3 separate regions of the Homo sapiens genome follow, and regions 1 and 2 are each linked to region 3. The links are contacts of gene promoters, found by promoter capture Hi-C in blood cells and fetal thymus (Javierre and others, 2016). All regions are on one chromosome and are shown on one strand. The core of a region is centred on a gene start or on the middle of the fragment in contact, and the rest is flanking DNA. Distances in the headings are between cores, read along the strand shown. Region 1 overlaps FAM219A (family with sequence similarity 219 member A). Region 2 overlaps FAM219A (family with sequence similarity 219 member A). Region 3 holds the start of CNTFR (ciliary neurotrophic factor receptor).

Region 1 (3,772 bases), core at 150-2,649, 140 kb after region 3:
TACATGTGTGTCATGTGACTCTTATTCTCAGAAAGGTAGCTGGCTGAATTCAGCAAGACAGAATTTCAATAGGAATCTAGGGAGGCTGTGTGATTGGAGAAGGTAGGGACCTTTAAAGCGAGCTAGTGCTTGAGTGGACAGAAAGCTTAATATAAGTCCACTATATAACAAAGCTAATGTGCTGTTGGACTACATTAATAGAAGCATGGAATTCAGTTCCTAGGAGGTAATCATCCTACTCTGCCCTATTCTGTAGTGGTCATCACCATCTGAAGTCCTCCATTCTGTACTGATATCATCATTCAAGAGATTGGGTGACTAGAATAATGAAAGGAGTCAAAAGCATGTCATGTGAGAATAGTTAGAAGAACTGAGCTGTTTGGCCTATGAATAAGCAGTCTCAGAGAAAGCATTTTGAGGTTTTCAAATACCTAAAGGACTGGGATTAGGAAAGAAAAGGAGGATAGTCTTCATGTTATCTGTAGCTTCACAGGGAGAACCAGAGCCATGGTGGGAATGTGAATGTGTTCTTACCTCACATTCTCTATGGTATCAGTTCTTAAACTGGGCCAGAGGCCAGGGCACCAGGAAGACACACTGCTCTGTGCAAATGTCCTAGTCCTTCCAAAGTAGGTGCTAGGAATAATATTCTAGCAGTAAACATGGCTCTGTTATGTGTGTGTACTATAAACGTGTCCAAGAATCCACTGTGGAACTTAGCACAAGCAGCACTTTTCTAGTTTTCTGAGAATAGGTGTTTGCTAATGTTTTGTATATATCAAGGCCTGTCACAAAAGCACCATCTTCTTCATGCATCCCTTTCTATCCTTCAGTGAGATGTGAGCTCTCCATTTACCTGTCCTGTGGCCCTAATACCTTGTCATTGTGTAAAGTTTATGGGTACAGTGTCTTATCCCTATCTTTAATTCCCCCCGCCCCGCATTTTTTTTTTTTTTTTGAGACAGAGTCTCGCTCTGTTGCCCAGGCTGGAGTGCAGTGGCACAATCTTGGCTCACTGCAGCCTCTGCCTCCCAGGTTCAAGCAATTCTTCTGCCTCAGCCTTCCGAGTAGCTGAGAGTACAGGTGCACACCACCACACCCAGCTAATTTTTGTATTTTTAGTAGAGATGGTTTCACCATGTTGGCTAGGCTGGTCTTAAACTCCTGACTTCAAGTGATCTTCTTGCCTCGGACTCCCAAAGTGCTGGGATTACAGGCATGAGCCACTGCACCCAGCCTATCTTTAATTCCTTTTTAAGGTAGGTGAAAAGATGTTTCCAAAGCACCTGAACCATCTCATTAAGCAGATTAGGAAAATCATTTTGCCCACTTTATAGATCTGCAAGCAGACTCCCAGAAAGGTAAACAGGCTTAGCCACTACCCAGCTGGAGGTTGGCGTGGCCTAGATTAGACCCTCCTTCGCAACTTGGAACCCAATTAAGTTCTTCTACATCAGGCTTGAACTTCTCCACTGGCTTTTGAGGCATCTACACTAGGCTTTTACCCCTCAAAGCTGGCCATACTTGCTACCATTCAAGCCAACTTTCTTTCTAGTAAGTCCAGCCATGTCCTTCACCTTCTTTCACCTATTGGCACCTTGAGGCCTCCTCTCCTCTTAACAATTCTCTTCTGCCCATTTCACTCATACACATTCTTCAGAGATCAATATAAACTCCCATTCTTCAGAGAGCTTTCCCTGAATATTCTAGTGAGCTCTTAACCAATCCCTAAGCCTCTATAACCTCTAGCACATAATTTTATACAAATGATATTCTGGTTTAGGGTGTCCACTTTAATGTGCTGTGAGTCTTGTCACCCCAACTCCCCTTTGATCTCCTTGACAAGATAGCTTCTACCTCTAGAACTTACAGACTGGTGAAGAAGATACTTGCTCTTATGAAACAGAACTACAGAAGAATACAGCTGGCTCCTTTAAAGATGAGTAAGAGTGGAAAGGAGAGGAGGTTGGGAGGTTATTCTAAGGAGGGGAACAGCAAAGACCTAGAGGGGGATGAGTAGGTGAGAATTAGTAGAGTGGAAGCCACATGTTGGGGAATTAAGGGAGATTCAGGGGAATACAGGGATGGGACATTCATTCATTATTCAAATAACATCTTTTGAGCATCTGCTATATGCAAGACACTGAGCCAAACATAGGAAGTAAAATGATGAATAAAGCAAACATGGTACCTACCTTCATAAGCTGGCAATCCAGTAGGAGAGACAGATACTAAACAAAGTGCACAAACACAATTACCAACTATGACAAGTGATAGAAAAGGCAAGAAATGCAGTAGGAAAAGAGAGAATAATAAATTATTCTCTTGTGGATGTCAGGTAAGGCTGCTATGAGAAAGTGATGTTTGAACTCAGACCACAGGATGAGAAGGATTTTGTTCTTACAAGGAGTGACGTGCTCCTGGCTCCCCAGTGGGCAGGGGTCCCTAGCTGAGTTAGCAATCTGAGTTCCTTACAAATTGGCCTTTTCCCATCTTCTCCCTTTGCAGCATTAGGTACATTTTCAGAAGTAAGGGACGTAGAATAATGTAAGAAGGCCAATCCAGCCCCTCTCCCATTGGTAGCAGAGCTGATAACTGTGCCGTCAGCTTTGTTGTGGGGGCTGGAGAAGCTATTAATGGAGTTGTAAGCTTTAATATTTAATGAGGAAAAAACTTAGTTTTGCTGATGAAGAGCTCCTACCTGAGTCTTCCAACATTATATGACCTGTACACATCCTCCTGGAAATGGAGAAAGTCTCTGGGGATCTTGGAGGAAAGGAAGAGTGCCAGCCTGGATGTCCTGTTCTTGGTGTATCAGGCATAGGTTTCTCCTTACCACAAAACCCAAATGTATAGGTCATTCTCTCTGGGGACAGACTTGCCTCTGGTGGGAAAGCCAGTAGCCACATTGGCAGGCAAATTGCAGCAGCTGGTGAAAGGGGCCTCCACTGGTTCTCCTATGAATGCCAAAGCTGTTCCCTGAGGATTTTAGCTTCCAGAAAGTCCTCTCTGCTCTCAGCTGACATGCTGCATCCAGCTCTGGCCTAGAGGACTCAGTGAAAGGCCAAGTGGGGATAATGATATGGGGAAGTGGTAGTAGCTAGTGGTTTAGGGAAGGGGAGGGAGAATTATGTGGAGTCAGGGAGGGAGACCAAGTTGAGGGTTGGTATTTAATGTAGCAGACATTGGTACCAAAGGGAACCAGTCAGAACCAAGATTTGACCATCTGTTAGCCTCCCTATCAACTTCCTGATGGAATCTCATATTTCACATCCTTCATTTGCCATGGGCTCTGATACAGCAGAGAGACAGTCACAGGAAGCTCCCACAGGAGGAATTGGTTTGAGTATGCTTGAGGGGGTGGGGAAATTAGGATAAGCCAGTGGGGGGCACGGGCCTGAGGGCAGGAGCTGTGCACAGCAGTGGTAAGTAGGCTGGGTATATCCTAGCTACTATCACTTTTGTTATGACCTTTGGCCAGCCTCCTAACCGCTTTCAGGCATTTGTAAAATAAATAAGATCATGTATGTGAAAATGAGCTGCAAATTACTATATTATTTCTGGTCTAAGGGTTGATGATAATGAAAGGGTTGCTGATTTTCTTTTTCTGTCTGTAATTCCCAAGGGAACTTTTGTGGGAGAGAGTGAGGAGATGGGTTATTCTTCTCATCACCAAATGAGAAGAGTCTTTGGCCTCCTTGACAGGGCTGTGGTGAGGCCAGGCTGGAGAAGGACCTGCTCTGTGCTTTCACTGATCTCTGGAAGAGATTCC
Region 2 (3,688 bases), core at 257-2,756, 170 kb after region 3:
GACTGCTTCAGTGGCTCCAATATTTCCTTCCTGTGGAGAACTCAATTGAGCAGGAAGCTTGTGATCAGAAAGCATCCATGCTATTTTCTAAAGAGGGGCTACAAGTTTGTGTTGAGCTCCAGAGACATGATTGAACTAGGTACCAGCCTTCCAAGTGACTGCTTTGCAAGACAACAGTCCCACAGAGGTGTAAGTTCTGGTACGTTGTTAATCTCATGACTTTATCTAAGTCTCTGAGAAGGGGCTGGGGTAAGAGAGATGAGGAAATTAGATTCAAATTGCCTACCAGGTGTGACTTTGGACATATTACTTTATGCAACCTAGTTCTTCAATTTTAAAATGAAAATGATATTTGCCTTACTTGGTTTTGGGGAGGATTCAATGAAATAATATAGATAAAGCACTTAGCACCATGGCCGTACCTCTGGCAGGTATTTAAGCAACATTAACTAAATGACTGGATGAGTTTTGGAAGAACTACACCTGGGCTAAATTGTTCCGAACAACTCCCTGCCTGGATCCAGCCAGAGTTCTTAGTAGAGCTGCCTCCCCAACGTGAGCTTTGAGAAGTCCCTCCTCTTCTCTCCTCTCTTCCCAGACTATTGTTCCCTCTTGCCACTAGGAATGTAACCAGGTTAAGGTCAGGGTGGAGGGCTCTTTGAGAGGCTGTCTGGGGATGGTGTGGGCGTAGAGAGGCTGGCCTAGAGCCACACTATTCCAAGTGTGGTCGCTGTATTAACAGCATTGGTACCACCTGGGAGCTAATATGAAATGCTGACAATTCAGGTTCCAGACCTACTGAATCAGAATCTGCATTTAAATAATATGCCCAGATGATTTCTATGCACATTAATATATGAAGAAACACTGTCCTAGGGGCACAGATGGGTTCAGCAGGGGTGGAGGGTTGAGACAGTGCAGGTGTGTCAGCTGTCTAGAAGAGGTAGAGGTTGTATGGGGGTGGGGGAGGCTGTGGCAGGGGGGTGTACTCAGAGAAGAGGAAGTGTCCTCAGAGATGTGGGTTGTAGAGCTGTAGGGGGCTCTTTGGGAAATGTTGGTCATTTGCTGTTTCAGCGGCCTTTCCTATTGATGCCTGGAGTACGAGGTGGTACCCCTTCCTATTGATGCCTTGAGTATGAGTTAGCCGGTAAGTGTCACTGCACCAGCCAGGGAGTGACAGGTGGGCAGGCAAAGGCTCTCTACTGCCCTGAGCCTGCAGAGACGTTCCTGCAAGTATCCTAGGACCATCTAGCTTAGCAGTTGAGTATTGTTTTCCATGGAGATGCATAACCAGCAACTGGCTAGCCTCACCCCTAAAAACACACCCTGAGTTGGTGTTACTCTACAATCTCCCCTCCTTACCTCTGTACCCCCAGCTGGCACACACACACCCCTATAACACACACACATGAACTTTCTTCTCTTGGGAGACTCAGATGGGAGTTCATAAGTAGGGTTAACCCTCCCCTTCCCCTCTCTGACCTGCTTGACCCCAGGCTGGCCCCCAGGCCTCTATGGGCCCCTCAGCCCTGACCTCCCTGCTGCACGGAACAGGCCTTGTGAGAGTGACTGCAGGCCCTAGGCTTGGCTGGATGCAGCAAAATTTGTTTCAGCAGAGCCATTCTCTCTCTCTCTCTCTCTCTCTCTCTCTCTCTCTCACACACACACACACACATACACACACACACACACACGAGTTTCACTCTGTCACCCAGGCTGGAGTGCAGTGGTGTGATCACAGCTCACTGCAGCCTCAACTTCTCAGGCTCAAGTGATCCTCCTGCCTCAGGTTCCCAAGTAGCTGGGTCCACAAGCACATGCTACCACACCCGGCTAAGTTTTTTTTTCTTTTTTGTAGAGATGGGGTCTCACTTTGTTGCCCAGACTCGTCTTGAACTCCTGGGCTCAAGCAATCCTCCCACCTCAGCCTCCTGAAGTGCTGAGATTACAGGCTCATGAGCCACCACGCCTGGTCTTTCTCTTTCTTAAGCACTCTTAGGACAGGACTCTCAGTCCCTGATTGCCTTCTTAATAAAAACCCTTTCCAGCCACCCACCTAGAGCCTCTTGACCCTTCCTTTGGGTTATCTGTTTATCTCAATGGTAAAGGAAAAGGTCCTGCTGCAAATGACCCCCCAAAATGAGGTGGGGAGTAAGTGAGTGCCCTGTGGCAGGGTAGGAACTACATCAGCAGCAACGAAAAGTAGAGTCCTAGCCCCCAGGGCAGAGCTTCACCAGTAGTTGCTTTAAACCCTCTGCCAAAGTACCCAGTGACCAATAGCCAGGTCTCCACTTTAACCTGGCTCCTGCCCAGGCCCAATCTTGTATGTCAGAGAAGATAATATCGCTACCATTATCGCTCTCCTCTGTGCTCCTACCACCCTCCATGCATTCCTGCCTCTGCTGTTCCTCTCTCTTCCTTAAATAGGCTGATCTGTGTGCCTGTCATCTCTGCACTTTTAAATTCTTCTTGGCAAGAACCAGGGCTTGGTGTTTTTCCCTCCCCAGTGTACATTGTGCCCTCCCCCTTGTTGGGGTTCAGTGATTATCAAAGTTCTGAACAAGTGGCAAGTTCACCAATGTTTAATTATTGGGATGACAAAAAGGAAAGACTAGGAGACTGCTCTGGCTAGAGAGCTGAGCTTTAGAGCTGCAAATTATCTTTGTGGGCAAAGAGTAGTGCCTGCCAGGCATAATGGGGGTTAGAGACTTAGAACAAGCTAAAAAGGAGAGGAAGGGCAGCGACAGGAAATGCCACAGAGAGGAAAAGCTATTTGATACTAGCCCTCCAAGTCCATTGTCCATTGCAGACAAGTTGGTCCTTATTCTTCCAAGGCCAGAGGGAAGAAATCCCATAGACTCTGCCAATTACTTTGCTTTCCTGCAAATCAAGGAGCCCCAAAGATTTATGAACCAGTGCAGGCCAGGCTCAGTTCCTTGAGTAATTGAAGCTTACTAAAAAGCCTTAAGTGAGATTTGGGGCCAAGATTCAGACAAGAATCCACACGTCAATCTGGCCCAGACAAATGTCAGTGTCTGCTGGCATTTCTCCTGCTTCTGCTTCCTACCAGGTGTGGGGCTCTCAAGGAGTCTCCAACCACATGTCTTGTACTGATTCCTGGGCAGTATTCTCCTCAGTGTCTATGCCTCCTCCCTTATCTTGAAGAACTGGAATCCACATTCTAGAAGGAAACTGAAAGATCCTCTGGACTGTGCTCCCTAAAGCGCTGTTAACCTTGAACAACCTTGCCATCTTCCTGTCCTCTGGGCCCTGTCTAAGGGGCACCTCAAGTAGAAAGCCCCCAGAAACCCAACCCCAAATCCCCAGCCCCGTCCAACTCCCCTGGTCTTAGAATAATTTTCCCTCTCCTATGAAAGGCCTCATCCCCAAAAGTCTGTGTTGTCTGAATCTGAATATGAAAAGGGAAGGGACTGCCTCCTCCCCACTGCCCACCACACACCTTCTTATTTTGCTGCCTAGGTCCTGCTTCTCAATTTTTTTAAAAAAAAATTGTATTAGAATATGCATAACATAAAAGTTACCATTTTAACCATCATGGGGCTTTGTTTGTTTGTTTGTTTGTTTGTTTGTTTGAGACAGAGTCTTGCTCTATCACCCAAGTTGGAGTGCAGTGGTGCAATCTTGGCTCACTGCAACCTCTGCCTCCCAGGTTCAATAGATTCTCCTA
Region 3 (3,950 bases), core at 502-3,001:
CGGTCAGCCCCCTGGGGAGGAGCGGCCCCCGGTGTACCGAACCTTGCCAGGGCCTAGAGCTTCGCCGCAGGGGCAGGGGCAAGTCCTGCTCCCCTCAAGATCCCGTCGCAACGCCCCCTTCCTTCCCCGCGTCCACAGTCTAATCCCGGTCTGCGGCACGGGAAGCAGGAGGCCGGCGGCCCAGAGAGCCCGGGGAGAGGACACCTTGTGTGGGCGGCTGTGCGCTGACCCTCAGCGGGGCGCAGCTAGTTTGCTGTGTGTCCTGAAGTCCTAGCTGGCCGTCTCTGAGCTCCAGCCCATGCCGACCCCTGCCAGTTGTAGGAAGGGGATTCTGTGGCCACGGAAGTGAAAGTGAAAAGCCCAGGCCGTGGCGGGAAGAAGGATTTTCCTCTGCAGTGGGAGTCCCTGAGGCATTTGTTGGGAAAGGGCCCGGGCGCTCTAGGCAGCCTACTGGGGAAGGATGTGAGGAAACATGGAGACATTTCCCTCCCTTCTCCTCGCCCTCAGCCCTAGAGCAGCTCCCCGGAGGGGCAGGGCCCAGGATTATGGGTCAAGGGTCAGGTGACAAATCCAAGGGGTGGAGACGGGGGTGGCTTTCTCGGTCTCTGCCTCTGCCATTGCCACTCCATTGCGCTTTCACGTGGCCTCAGAAGTTGGTCAGGTTGTCCAACCTTACTCTCCTATGTTGCAGCCAGACCGGAGGCCCAGGGACGAGTGCAGTGAACACCCCGGCCCCTCAGAGGCCCAGGCTGCGAAGGGAGTGAGCCTCCTATCGAGGGGTGCGCCTGTGCCCGGCATTGAGAGTGCACCCTCCCTACCCCTTCATTCCAGTGGAGGCTTCTCCCCCGGCTGTGTGTCCTCGGGGCGCGAGGAACATGCGAGTAGTGGTGTTGGTGTCATCGGAGACACTGGAGGCATGGGCCTGGGCTCCCGGCAGGGTCCATCCCCGGTCAAGGAAGCCCCTTTCCCCCGCGCGAGGGGGTGACCGGGAGGGGAGTCGTTGCGGGGGGCAGTAGCAATAGGGGAGAGGCGGAGCCGGCTGGCTTCTTCTGCCCAAAGTGGGGGTTGGGGGTTCTGGCTCGCGTTCCTCTCACGGCGACGCCGGAGGGAGGACCCCGAGAGTTGGCCCGGGGTGTGCCAGGGAGTCGGTGCGAGGCCGTCAGGGCCTGAACGTGCGGGAGTGTGCGCAGGAGAGACCTGGCTAAGGCCGAGAGGGAGAGTGAGTGTGAAGGAGCGATCCCGGGGGTGAGTGCGCGCCCAGCCGCCCTAGGGGAGCGGGCCGAGTGGGTGTGTGTGTGTGTGTGTGTGCGCGCGCGCGTTTGCGAGACCCGCGGCCGGGGCTGCGCGTGAAGCACGGGGACCACAGCCGTCTTGAGGGCGCGCCCGAGAAAGGGTGAACGCGAGGGGGCCACGCGTGCCAGTGCGGACGAGTGTGCCAGCGGGGGGGCAGAGCGCGTGCCAGTGCTGGGCGAGTGGGAGTGGGGGCTCACAGGCCCGCGCAGGGCGAGCGGACCGCGTGTGCCAGGAGCGAGAGCGTGCCAAGGCGGGGGCGCGCGGGGCCCGTGGCGGGGAGGGGTCGTGGCGCGCGGCCGCGGAGGCGCGGGGAGACAAGGCAAGAGGGGGAGGGGAGCGAGGGCGCGCGCGGCCGAGCGGGCGCCCGCGGTCACATGGGCGAGAGAAGGAGGGAGGGAGCGCGCGAGGGAGGGAGGAGGATGGGGGGGTTAAAGCCGCCGAGCGCTGAAGAGCCGGTGCAGAGCGGGCGGCGGCGGCGGCGGCAGCGGAGGCGGCGGCTCCAGCCGGCGCGGCGCGAGGCTCGGCGGTGGGATCCGGCGGGCGGTGCTAGCTCCGCGCTCCCTGCCTCGCTCGCTGCCGGGGGCGGTCGGAAGGCGCGGCGCGAAGCCCGGGTGGCCCGAGGGCGCGGTGAGTACCCTGCGGCGGAGTGCGCGCGGCCGGACCCTCAGAGCCCGGGCTGACCAGCAGACCGGCGGCCCTCATGCGTGCGGGAAGAGTGAGGGGACACCCGTGGGCCCACGGACGGGGGCGACAGGAAAGTTCACGAGAAACTTTGCCTGCAAACTCGGGGGCGGGGGCGCTGGAGGAGCGGCCCCCCACGTCCGGGCGCTCCGGGGGTTGGGCGTGGTGGTGGTGGTGGGGCCGACTGTGGACTAGAGGGAGGTGGCTCCGGCGGTTTGTCCTAGTGTCCCTGTTCTCCCCACCCCTCAGCTGCACGCGCGGGGTCTGGAAAAATTCCTGGGTTTGGGGAGGTTCGTAGTGGCCTTTGCGCGCCCAAAGGTGGCTTCTTTCTCGGGCAGAAATCTGGACTTCAAAGCGCCCGGGGATGCGAACCGACGGTTGCGCGTCTGCCAGTGCATGTGTGTCCGTGTGAATCCGCGCGCCCGCGCGCGCGTGTGTGTGTGCATGTGTGTGTCGGTCGGCGTCCCCATGGTTTTCTCTTCAGTCCGCCTGGATGTATCTCCATGTAGTGGGTCTCCTCCAGTGTGTCTCTTTGTAAGTCTTCCTGGCTTGTGCGAGTCTGCCTATGGTGTATCCCCAAGTGTCTCTTTGTGAGTCTGCTCGTGTGTGTCTCCTCCAGTGCGGCTCAGTGTGAGCCAGTCTGGGTGTCCCTGTGTTGCTCCGAGTAGTGTATCTCCGCGTGCGTGGGGGCTGGGCCGTGGGGAGGTCACCAGACGGACAGCTCTCCCTCTCGGCTCCTCTCCTCTCCCGAGCCTCTCCTCCAGCGTTAGCTCGCTCGCTTGCTCGCTCCCTTGTCCCCCTCCCCCCTCCAGTAGCTTCAGGCGGGCAGGACTATTTCACGCCTTGTTGAAAATTCAGGATTTTCTTTCTTTCCGTCTAGTCTCTCTTTTTGAGAAGCGTCTGTGTGTGTCTGTGTGCCTGGCAGCTTGTCTGCAACATTGGGTGTGTGTCTGCATGCCGCTGTAGGAGTGTGTCTCTAACACTAGTTGTTCTGCCTGTAATACTTGGTGAATTTGTGTCTGTGTCACTGGGAGTGTTTGTGTGGCTGTGGTCACTGAGGTGGTGCGAGTGTGAAATGCTGGGTGTGTCTGTGCATCTGTAATTGCTGTGTGTCCGAGGGGCCTGAAACACCAGGTGTATTTTTGTGTATCTAACTCTGGGTGTGATGGTGTGTCATTACACGTGTGGGAATGGGGCTTGAACCATTGCAGATTCCCAGGGATGTAGGGCTAGCAATGACTTGGGGGCTAGAAGGGCCTAGGTGTCTCAAACTATGCCTCTCTGTCTCCACTGTCACAACCCACACAAATCCTCTCAGCTGGTGCCAGGGGCTCCTGGTCAGCATTGGTGAGATAGAGCTAAGGTTCACACTGTCAGGGCTGATACTCCAACTGAGACCCTGAGCCTACACAAAGACTAGGAGTTTAAAGTTCATGCACAGGACTTCTGGGGGCTCTGGAATCCATACTCAGATGCACACTGGGACACTTCAGCTCCTTCTAGGGTCTAGGGGCTTACATTCATATGGACTGACACTTACGTTGTGGGGCTCATATCCAGGGATACACTTCAGTCCTGGAGTTTCCACATAGACTCACATTGGAACTCTGCTCACACTGGGACCCACACTGGGACTGTAGGCTCATGCTTAGATTCACGGTCTTACCCTTTAGCTTAGATCTACATTGAGACCTAGAGCTCACACCCAGAATCTCACTGGGGTCCTAGGGCTCACACTGGGGCTCACACAAAGACCCTCATGCTCACTCCGATTCACACTTATATTCTGGGACTCCGAGTTAGTCAGACTCGCATGGGGAACATGGGGCTCACATTTGAACTCAAGGACTCGCTGAGGACACTGGGGTTCATAGTCAGATTCACATTTCCAAGCTGGGGATCACATTGACTCACACGGGGACCCTGGAGCTCACTCAGATTCACACTAGGACCTTTGGGTTCACACTTAGATTCAT

Evidence for each region. The method cuts DNA at HindIII sites, captures the fragments that hold promoters and counts their contacts. A CHiCAGO score of 5 or more calls a contact.
Region 1: a fragment that was not itself captured here is called in contact with the fragment with the promoter of CNTFR in region 3 in 3 of 17 cell types (erythroblasts, M2 macrophages and total CD8 T cells); the score reaches 5.8 in erythroblasts.
Region 2: a contact is called between a fragment that was not itself captured here and the fragment with the promoter of CNTFR in region 3, in 4 of 17 cell types (erythroblasts, endothelial precursors, M1 macrophages and 1 more). The highest score is 6.5, in erythroblasts.

The regions. Positions count from the first base shown.
Region 1 is chr9:34,443,359-34,447,130 of GRCh38, reverse strand. All of the region lies in intron 1 of FAM219A (family with sequence similarity 219 member A), which reads left to right. Among named protein-coding and RNA genes, the nearest start is that of FAM219A, 13 kb to the left of the region's middle. The HindIII fragment of the contact is 2,504 bases long and covers 148-2,651 here.
Region 2 is chr9:34,418,980-34,422,667 of GRCh38, reverse strand. The region is part of intron 1 of FAM219A (family with sequence similarity 219 member A); the gene reads left to right. LOC124902145 (a long non-coding RNA gene) reads right to left here. Exons shown (of 3, transcript XR_007061465.1): 2 at 1-30. Among named protein-coding and RNA genes, the nearest start is that of SPMIP6, 23 kb to the right of the region's middle. The HindIII fragment of the contact is 2,893 bases long and covers 60-2,952 here.
Region 3 is chr9:34,587,525-34,591,474 of GRCh38, reverse strand. It overlaps CNTFR (ciliary neurotrophic factor receptor), which reads left to right and starts at 1,751. Exons shown (of 10, transcript NM_147164.3): 1 at 1,751-1,920. The HindIII fragment of the contact is 17,004 bases long and covers 1-3,950 here.